2 separate regions of the Homo sapiens genome follow, and region 1 is linked to region 2. Evidence: promoter capture Hi-C in human tissues and cell types (Jung and others, 2019). All regions are on one chromosome and are shown on one strand. Each heading gives the region's core, a stretch centred on a gene start or on the middle of the fragment in contact. The rest is flanking DNA. Distances are from core to core; before and after follow the strand shown.

Region 1 (4,944 bases), core at 1,780-4,279, 120 kb after region 2:
TCTCAGAAGGTACAGACCATAAAGACCCTCATGATAAAACAGGATGCAGTAATGAAGCCAGCCAAAACCTGCCAAAATCAAGATGGCGAGGAAAGCGACCCTCTGGCTTCCTTGCTGCTCATTATATGCTAATTATAATACATTAGCATGCTAAAAGACACTCCCACTAGTGCCATGATGGTCTATAAATGCCATGGTAACATCCAGTGGTTACCCCGTATGGTCTAAAAAGGGAAGGACCCCTCAGTGCTGGGAATTGCCTGCCCCTTTCCCAGAAAACTCATGAATAATCCACACCTTTTAAAGCATATGATCAAGAAATAACCATAAAAATAGCCAACCAGCAGCTCTTGGGGGTTGCTCTGCCTATGGAGTAGCCATTCTTTTTTTTTTTTTTTTTTGAGACGGAATCTTGCTCTGTTGCCCAGGCTGGAGTGCAGTGGCCCGATCTCGGCTCACTGCAAGCTCCACCTCCGGATACACGCCATTCTCCTGCCTCAGCCTCCTGAGTAGCTGGGACTACAGGTGCCCACCACCATGCCTGGCTAATTTTTTTGTATTTTTAGTAGAGACGGGGTTTCACCATGTTAGCCAGGATGGTCTCGATCTCCTGACCTCATGATCCGCCCGCCTCGGCCTCCCAAAGTGCTGGGATTACAGGTGTGAGCCACTGCACCCGGCCCATTCTTTTATTCCTTTACTTTCTTAGTAAACTTGCTTTCACTTTACTCTGTGGACTTGCCCCAAATTCTTTCTTCCATGAAATTCAAGAACTCTCTCTTGGGGTCTGGATTGGGACTTCTTTCCAGTAACGTAACTACATTCCACTTTAAATGTGTTCATTCTCACCTATTTTGTAAATATGTCTTCAAAAATACATGATCTCTTAGCATTCTCGAAAATAAGGCTTTGAGTAATATACTTATCAAAGACAGTTGCAACGTGTGGAGAGATGACAACAGAAGCTTCTTTCTACTTCTAAGATTCCACGGACAGGCCAACGATGACCAACCATAGGAACAAATGAATAATTGTGGATTTCTCCTACCATTTTTTGTACAACGATGAAAGTCCTCTGTATTCACAGCTAATCTGAACAACACTGGCAAAACAACACTGATGGTGATTCATTGCTATTCCATGTAACAGGGCATGGTTAACAGAAATAGCCATGCCATATATAACCAAGGATGCCCAGCACAGCATCATACCTCTAAGGTAATGCCTTTACCTGCACCCACTGCAACGTTAGTTAAGAGAGATCAAGTGTTTCGAAGCAGAAAGCCACAAAGGAACTGAGGGTTTTCACGGTATCGTTAGTGGAATATGGCCTGTGTATTTCTAATAAGCTCCAAGTCATGATATCTATTATCTTCTACTCGGTAACGGGGCAACAGGTTAAAATGATGCTACTTAATGGGCATGACAGCCTCCTGGGTAGCACAGTTAGAGTAAATAAAATGTCCGCTGTTCTCTGGCTCAATACTTCATCTGCTGGGACACGCCAAGCACGCTGCCGCCTGAGGGCCTTTGCAGTTGGGCACTTCCTCTGACCCAGATAGGCACGGGACTCCCTTCTATCTCTGCTCAAAGGATGCTTTAGCCCCGAGGCTCCCTACTCCTTCTGACATTGTCCCTGCACCGGTTTCTGTGGTGCATACTCCCTCCCTCTCTTCTCATTACCAATCCTGTATTTCTCTACTTGTTTGTTACTTTCTTCGGCCACTGGGATGAGCACGCACGGCTCGTCTGTTTTGTTCCCCGGCACAGCTCCAGTGCCTAGGATGGTGTTTGGGGCATGGTGGTCCTCAAATATTTGCAGAAGCAATGAGTAGAGTATATGGGGAAGGCAGCTTTTCATATAACATTTTTAAGAGGCAGAAATGTTGCTTTAAAATAATTTCTACAGCAAGGCTGCCTCTTGTTGTAAAAGTATACCTGCTCATTTTAGAAAATCTAACAGGCATGGATACATCAGAAAAAAGAGAACAAAATTTAAAACATCTATAATTTTATTTTTATTTATTTTTGAGACGGAGTCTCGCTCTATCTTCCAGACAGGAGTGCAGCGGTGTGATCTTGGCTTGCTGCAACCTCTGCCTCCTGGGTTCAAGCGATTCTCGCACCTCAGCCTCCTGAGTAGCTGGGATTACAGGAACATGTCACCATGCCTGGCTAATTTTTGTATTTTTAGTAGAGACGGGGTTTCACCATGTTGGCCAGGCTGGTCTCGAGGTCCTGACCTCAAGTGATCCACCCACCTCGGCCAAAGTGCTGGGATTGCAGATGTGAGCCACCACGGCTGGCCTAAAACATCTAAAATTTTATACTCATTTTGGCAGCATATATACTAAAATCTTATAATTTTATTACCCAGAGGTAATCATTAATAACATTCTGGTGGACATTTTCCTAATCCTTTCTTTTCATGATTTCCTATGTGATACAGATAGAATCAGATTGTTTGTAACCTGCTTCTCCCCTTTGCTTATTGTGAACTTCTGGTTATAAGCACTCTTCTGCCACATGATTTGAGTGACTGCATCATATCCTACTACACGGCTCTACTGTAGCTGATGTAACCATTCCTTATTGTTAGACACCTAGGTTTTTCCTAGTTCTGTTTTCAATGACATGCAGATGAACAATTTTGTGGTCTAAATATGTGTGCATCCTTGAAGTCCCCAGGATAGATTCCTGGATGAATGAAACATTAATTACTTGTTTGTGACCTTTTTGGGGAGGTCACAAACAAGTACCCTTGTGCCCAGCTGCACAAGGACAGACATTTTAATCTCACCATGAATAGTCAAAGAGAAGAGGAAGAAGCCCAGAGTCAAGGCAGCCTAATTCCTGAAGGCAGGCTCTTGGTTTCTTTTGGGTTGTGTGTCTAAATTCACAGTTGGAATTTTTAACTGTACTTCTTTCTCACATGTGGCTGTGTATATGTGTTTTATGTTCAGATGTCAAAACAAAAACACATCTTTTCTTCCACAACACAGAAAGTGGTCTTGGAAGGTGCTATGGTTTGAATGTGTCTCCCTCAAATTCACATGTTGAAATCCTTAGCCCCAAGATGATGGTGTCAGGAGGCAGGGCCTTTGGAAGGTGACTAGGTCATGAGGGTGGATCCCTCACGAATGGGATTAGTGCCCTTATAAAAGAGGCCTTGGAAGCTGGGTGTGATCCCAGGCTGATGCCTCTAATCCCAGCATTTTTGAAAGGCTGAGGCAGAAAGATAGCTTGAGGCTGGGAGTTTGAGAACAGCCTAGTCAACACAGTGAGACCCCCATCTCTACAAAAAATAATTTTAAAAATTAGCCAGGCACAGTGGCGTGCACCTGTAGTCCTAGCTACTCGGGAGGCTGAAGCAGGAGGATTGCTTGAGCCCAGGAATTCGAGGATGCAGTGAACAGTGATTGTGCCACTGCACTCCCGCCTGGGCATCAGAATGAGACCCTGTCTCTAAATAATAAAAACTTTAATAAAAAGAGGCCTGAGAGGCTCCTCATCCCATCTACCATGTGTGGGCAAAGCCAGAAGATGCCATCTGTGAATCAGAAAGTGAGCCTTCACCAGACACCTCACCTGCCTTGATTTTAGACTTCCCAGCATTCAGAACTAAGAGAGAGAAACATATGCAGTTTGTAAGCCATGCAGTTTATGGTATTTTGCTATAGCAGCCCGAGTGGACTAAGACAGAAGGGGAGCTAATTTGTATGGAGAGCTTAACAGTGATCCTTAGTAAGTCAGTCCCCCAAGCCACCCCACTTCCTTCTGACGGCATTTTTCTGGTTGCACAATCCGATCTGTAAGTGCAACCTGGAAATAAGGGCCTGGGTGATTCCTCCCACACAACTGGGTCAACACCTGCTACTTGGAGTTTTCTCCCGGAGGCGGGAATCACAGGTGACCAGCAAATCACAGGCATGAGTCATTCTTTCTCCTGCTGGCAACTGCAGCGAGGGCCTCAGAACCACAGACTGTCAGCCACAGAAGGGTCCCTGGGGAGTCTGACCTGCCTAGGATGCAGATGAAGATGCTGAGGTCTAGAGAGCTAACTTCACCACAGCCTCTGCGCCGCTTCGTGGCAGTGCTGGTGGAGGAAGAGAAGGACGCTCTGTTCTCTACAGAGGCCCTGAAACTAGATGCTGGATCATCCCGTACGTTTCCCTGTGCTAAGGTTGCCCCATCTGGGCTGTAATCTTTGACTAACAGCAGGAGGATGACAGAGCTTTTAGAATTCAAAAGCAACTTGGGGATAGTCTCATCAAGGCTGCCCATGTTACAGATGAGGAGAATGAGCCCAGGGGGCACCGCGATATGTCTAAATCAGTTTTCCATCCTGAGCTCTGAATCCAGAACTCCAGCCTTTGAACCTAGTGCTCTTCCTCCTACATCGAGGGTGAGCAAACTTTTTCTGTAAAGGTCCAGATAGTAAATATTTGTGGCTTTGTGGGCCAAATACTGTCTCTGTTGTAACTCTCCAACTCTGCCATTGTAGCTCGAAAGCTGCAAAAGTGAGTAAAGGAGGGAAGGTGTTCCAATAAAGCCTTAATGGTGAAGACAGGCAGCCGCTGGGGTCTGGGCTGTGGATTGCAGTTCGATGACCCTTGCCCTGTATCACGCAGGTTCTCAAATCACTCATCCTCATTTGCAGTTAGATTTCAGTACAATGTCTGTATCTTCTTAATCTATCACAACAGCGACAATTAAGAATCTCAAGAGCACTAGAATTAAATCACTATTCAGGCTCTTCCACAATGCTTGCTATGCCAGGCAGCACAGGAAAAGGAAATTTTGCAGCCATACAATGGTGGTGAATGAAGTATGTATTCAGCAGAGCAAAATGTAAGGGCAACACATTCAATCGTTTTCTTAACAAGAAATATTTTCATGGACACACCCACTTTGGCTGTTGCCACGGTTAAAATAAATTCACAG
Region 2 (5,452 bases), core at 2,035-4,534:
CACACTGGAAAACTCAGGACCTTGTGCACAACTGAGCAAGGAATCACCTCCACAGGCCTTTTCAGGGTGATCCCAGCCGAACTCTGCTCCCCCCAGGCCACTCTCAGCCCAGGAAACTCATGGGTCTGAGTGAATTATGCCATTTTTGCTTCTTTCAAGAAAGGGCGAGGGGAGTGACAGGGGAATTTTCAGGGAGGCACAGCCAGGCAGGGTATACTCTGTCATTTTGCTGACCTAACAAATTATCATTGACAATTTTAAACAGCCAGCGTGACCAGGCCAGACTCTTCTAATGCAGAGGGCACCACCCATAGAACACACCAAACCCCACGTGGTGTGTTCTGAGCAGCGGGTAGAGCAGCATGAAAAGAAACGATGCTTTTGCATCAGGGACTATTTCACCTCTCGAACAGGCTGCCGGAGCCCAACCCAGACACAGGCCTGGCACCCACCCTGTATTCACACCGAGAATTCCCACTTGATATTCACAACTTTCTCTGCCTGAGGCCTGCCCCTTCCCCCTCGCCCCAAGCCTCTCCTTCTCCCTGGGGCCTTCTTGAGCTTAGCAGCTGGGCCTGTCTCTGCAGAACTATGAGGCTGGCAAAGTACAATGTTCTCTCTCCTACACTCCCCAAGCTTCTCTTTCCCTCCTCTCTGTTCTGCCTTCTCTTTCTCTCCTCTCCAAGGCCCTGAAAGCTTCTCAACAAGTCATTGATGTTAAGGATTAGTAACTGACATGAGACTATGAACCACAGTCATAAGTCTCTAATGGTGGGATATTAAGCATCAGATGGCTAGGTTTGGGGGAACAGGATGATATTTGGTGGGCAGGGGTTGTCCTGGTGCCCCTGAAGTCTTAAGTAGCTAGTCCCAATTCTGCCAGGGAGTAGGACTGGCCCAAAACTCAGAAGAAGATGACAGAGCAGGCATGTGCCAAGTGTCAGTGAGCCAGAAGGCTGTGTGGGGTGGGCCCAGGACACCAATGGCTCGGGGCAGAAGCTGGGGACAGAAGTGCCAGCTCCCTGCAGAGGCAGAGTTTGCTGGAGACTGGGTTACATCCTCCATCCTCACTTTTTGGGAATCCAAGCTCAATCTGTGAGCTACCCTGCTACTAAAATTCACACCTCTTCCCCCACCTCTAAGGATGGCATGAGGGATCCTAGCTACACAGCCACTTCCCTCAAGTCCAATGTCAGAGAGTCAAGCTGGGGGCTAGAGAAAGCAGAGGCCACAACACCAGCCCAGAACCACCTCCAGTAAAATGGACACTGTCATTCATTCATGACCTTACTTGATTCTCAAAACCCCCTGCCAGACCCATCTTACAGGTGAGGAGGCTGAGCCTCCAAGCATTCTGTAAGTTGGCCAGTGTCACACAGTCAGGAACCTAGCAGGGTTTGGAGCCGACGTTTTCCACAACAACCTAAGGCCAGTCTCTTCCAAACAAGCGTGAACAATTCAGCCAATCTCCCCCTGCACCAAGTCACAGAGCCCCAGCTGACAAGCCTGAGAATGGCTGAGCTCCCTCAAGTGTGCTGTTGGCTTGTGGGGCCTGGGGTGCAGCCAGCCAGGATGCTGGGGTTCTCACATCACCAACAGCCCCAGCCACAGCAGGGCCACCTCTATCTTCCGTTGAACTGGACTACCCAGCCCCTCAGCACATCCACTGCCTTCCACATGACAAGAGAGAGGAGGTTTGGGGGTGGGGAGGTCTCAGGCACAAGCACAGATTTCACCCTGTTAGGCACCCTGGGGACCTGGCCCTGAGATGAGGTGTCCCCCAGCTACCTCCAGGGGCTGCGTTAGCAGAGAAGTGAGGCAGATCTAGGGCTTCTCAGGCAGGCAGGAGACTTCGGCATGAGGGGCTGGCTACAGGGTCTGCAAAGAGGTGCCACCAACCTGCCACTGAGATGCCTGTGGTCCTGAGATACTCTGAATCCAGGACATCAGAGCCAATCAAGGTCCCACACCCACACCCAGGCAATCCTGGCTGTTAATTGATCAAGACTTCAGGTTTGTGGAAATGAGGGGAATGGGTGTGAGGTGGCTGGGAGGGGAAGCCCCATCTTGTGTTCCCCAGGATGGATGTGGAGCAGAAGCCAGCCTCGGTGACAGCTTGTATGTGACATCTGTCAAACTGAGACAGCTCCCACTTGGGGATCCTGTCCTGGGTCCTGCTCTAACCCAGTCACTGATAATCCAGTGCAAAGTGGGTGAATCCCTTCCTTTCTGGGAACAAGGGCTTCCTTAACCACCGGCGTGCCTGGCAGGTACCGGAGGCAGCCCCGGGGCAGCCCTGGAGAAGCTAGTCAGAATATGAGCTTCTTTCCTCCCCAGCCAGGCTCCCGGAATTATTTCTCAAATCATTTTCAGTCCTAGGAAGTGATAATTTGATTTCACTTTAACATTTTTAACGAGCTGCATCTTCATCAACTGCCAAATTAGGATGAGAGCAAAGATCGGGGAATCACAATGAGAGGTTTTGGAGTGATTGGGGAAATCCAAATTTGGGGTGTGCCTGGGTGGTTGACACCTCACGCCCAGCACCTGCGGTGGGGTCCCCATAGCACCACCCTGATCACCCCCGCGAGTCCATCTCTGCTCAGTGGCTCCTGGCAGGGACACCTCCTCCTATCAACCCTTCTCACAGGCGGGAGAAGGAAGCCCCGGGTCCCACGAGCTGGAGAAATGAGGCCACCCTGCAGGCTGTGATAAGCGGGGAGTTGGACCCGCATAGGCCGACAGCCCAGCTCAACAGGTGGTGGTGGGCTTATCCCTTCCTGCATTATCCGGATAATAATCTGCCAGCCCCATTCAAGTCCGTCGTGGAAAAGTCTGCCCTCAGCTTTGGCATGGGTAAATTGCCTAGAAGCGACTGCAAAGAGGGGGCGTCATCATCTCCCCCGATACATCCTTGGGACAGACAGATGGACAGACAGACACACGCACACGCGCATACACACGCCCGCGCTCCCCACCACACTGCCCCTTCCAGGGTGCGCGATCGCTAGGGCTCTCCAGCCCCTGCCCCTGGCTGGGCTGTCATGGGGGCGCAGCCCGGCGCCGCGGCCCAGCACCGGTGGGAGACCGTCCCCCAGGGACCCCCCCAGGATGGAAGAGGTGGTCTCTCCCGGTCTTCCCGGCTCTTACCTCGCTGGAGCGGCCGCGACCCCCGACCCTGGTCCAATGTCCCTCGCCGGCTGGGCGCGCGGGGCGGGAGGTACCGCGCTAGGCTGCCCGGGACGCCCGCCCCGTCCAGTCAGCCGGAACCGCTCGGCGCCAATGACCGTGGCCGCCGCCGCCGCAGCTCGCGCCCCGGACCCCGAGAGGGAGGGGCGGGCAGGGGGCGGGGCCGAGGGCGGGGCCTCCCCACCCCGGCGCTGCCAGCTGCAGGCGGGGTTTGGGACCGGTCAGATGCGGTCTCCCAGCCCGGGAGGTGAGCACCTCTGGGGTGAGCACCCTTGTGGGGGTGGCAGGTGAAGAGTTGGGGGCCGGCGTGGGAGAGGAGAGGCTTTCAGAGTCCGCATAGGGCTGGGAGACCCTGCCTGGAGTCAGACTCACCTTCAAATTCCAGCAGCTGGGGCTGCAGCCTCTGCCGTTGCTGCTGCTTTTAAATAAGGATGATGATGATGATGATGATGATGATGATGGTGATAGAACAACAATGCCAGCTAGTATTTATTGAGCACTTACTAGTGTAAGCGTTCAATGAGCTTCACATGTATTAAGTCATTTAATTCTCACACGAATCCCATTTTACAGATGAGAAGACTGAGGCACAGGGCGCTTAAGTGAGGAGTCTGAGGACACACAGCTGGAAAATGGCAGAGCCAGGACTGCAGCTCAGGCCTGTCTAAGTGCAGAATCTGAGCCTTTAAAGCCCCACTCTGCTTTTGTACTGTGTGGCCTTAAGCAAAGTGTTTGTCCCTCTTAACAGTAAAATGGTAATATATGTCCAATAAATGGTGGCAACTAACAATAAAACATTTCTTCCTTTCTTAGGTTCTATGTCTCCTTTAGTCTCTGGGTCCTGGACACCCAATAGGTGCTCAATAGATGTTTGTTAATCTATGACTAATTTGAAAGTGGCAGCTGGAGCCAGTGTGGTCAGCCAGGTTGGAAGGGGAACCCAAGGGCTAACTCTTCCTGGCCTGCATAGCCACATATCTTTTATTGCTTTGAAATGGCAGCCTGACCGATATCTTTGTCCGGCACACTTGTGCAGATGCTCACAGACCAGCAGCTTCCCCTCAAAGGCCTGTAAAATCCCTGCAGACCAAGAGGGGGTCAAAGATGTGGCATGTGGAAATATTTGGGGGCAAAGTTGGTTGCTAAATAATGAGACATCAGCAGTGAACATATTAGTTTAAAACTGTAGGGCAGAAACTTTTATAGAAGCATCTATGTTGCTGAGGTCTCCTGACATGGGAGGACTTTGTCACATGTGAATGGGGCCAGGTGGAGTTGGGACAACTGAAGGTTTTTGGAAAGGATACACCACGTGTCTATTCACAGCATTTTAGGCCTATGCAGTTTTCCGCTTTTTCTCCCTTTTCCCACCTACCCCAAGAGTGTTCTTCTCTATCCCCCAGAATACCCTGATGGAAATCCAAGAATGGATTTCTTCTTCTTCGTCTCTGGGCCCAGGAGCCTCTTGCACAGCTCTCACCAGTATGGCAATGATGAATTTACTGTCAATCTCCCTAACTATGCTGGGAGCCCCTTAAAAGGAGAAAGTCTGACGCATAGTAGGCACATTGTATTTGCTGAATGAATGACTGGAAGTTGGACACATCTCCCCAAGACTAAAGCTGTCAAGGAGAAAACCACCAAAGAAAACCTCAGAGGTGGCTGGATCAATGAAATGAAAAGATGAAAACGGGCAAAGCACCCAGGAGATGTGCCTTTTGCAAAGTCTGCAGGTCATTTTCCCAGCAAAGGCCAGAGAGGCTGGCCTGGGATCCATGCCCTGTGGGTCACCTCTGCGGGCCGTCGCCATGTCCTCCAGCCATTGAAGAGTAAGTGTATGGAGTGGGGGTGAGCAGACTGCCTGGTGTTGGGTGTGAGGAAAGGGGTGGGTGGAAGAGGGAATGTCCTCCCTTGTGGGTTAATTGAACAATCCCAGAATGTCCACTTGCCCCCTAGATAGGCCCCCTTTTTGATCTGTGTGACCCTATTCTCTGGATCATCTTGCAATGCTTATGGAGAAATAACAGATCAATTGGTTGCAGAAAACACCCTTCAAAAGGGAAGCTAGTGGCCGGGCGCGGTGGCTCATGCCTGTGATCCCAGCACTTAGGGAGGCCAAGGCAGGCAGATCATGAGGTCGGGAGATCAAGACCACCCTGGCTAACATGGTGAAACCCCATCTCTACTAAAAAACACACAAAAAAATTAGTCAGGCATGGTGGCAGGCGCCTGTAGTCCCAGCTACTCGGGAGGCTGAGGCAGG

What was found. Contacts are between HindIII fragments. The study calls those that stand out against the background at their distance.
Region 1: a contact is called between a fragment that was not itself captured here and the fragment with the promoter of CACNG5 in region 2, in 2 of the 25 tissues and cell types used here (H1 embryonic stem cells and mesendoderm cells).

Annotation. Positions count from the first base shown.
Region 1 is chr17:66,716,853-66,721,796 of GRCh38, reverse strand. All of the region lies in intron 8 of PRKCA (protein kinase C alpha), which reads right to left. Among named protein-coding and RNA genes, the nearest start is that of MIR634, 68 kb to the left of the region's middle. The HindIII fragment of the contact is 6,574 bases long and covers 1-4,944 here.
Region 2 is chr17:66,832,949-66,838,400 of GRCh38, reverse strand. It overlaps CACNG5 (calcium voltage-gated channel auxiliary subunit gamma 5), which reads right to left and starts at 3,284. Exons shown (of 6, transcript NM_145811.3): 1 at 3,151-3,284. The HindIII fragment of the contact is 10,169 bases long and covers 1-5,452 here.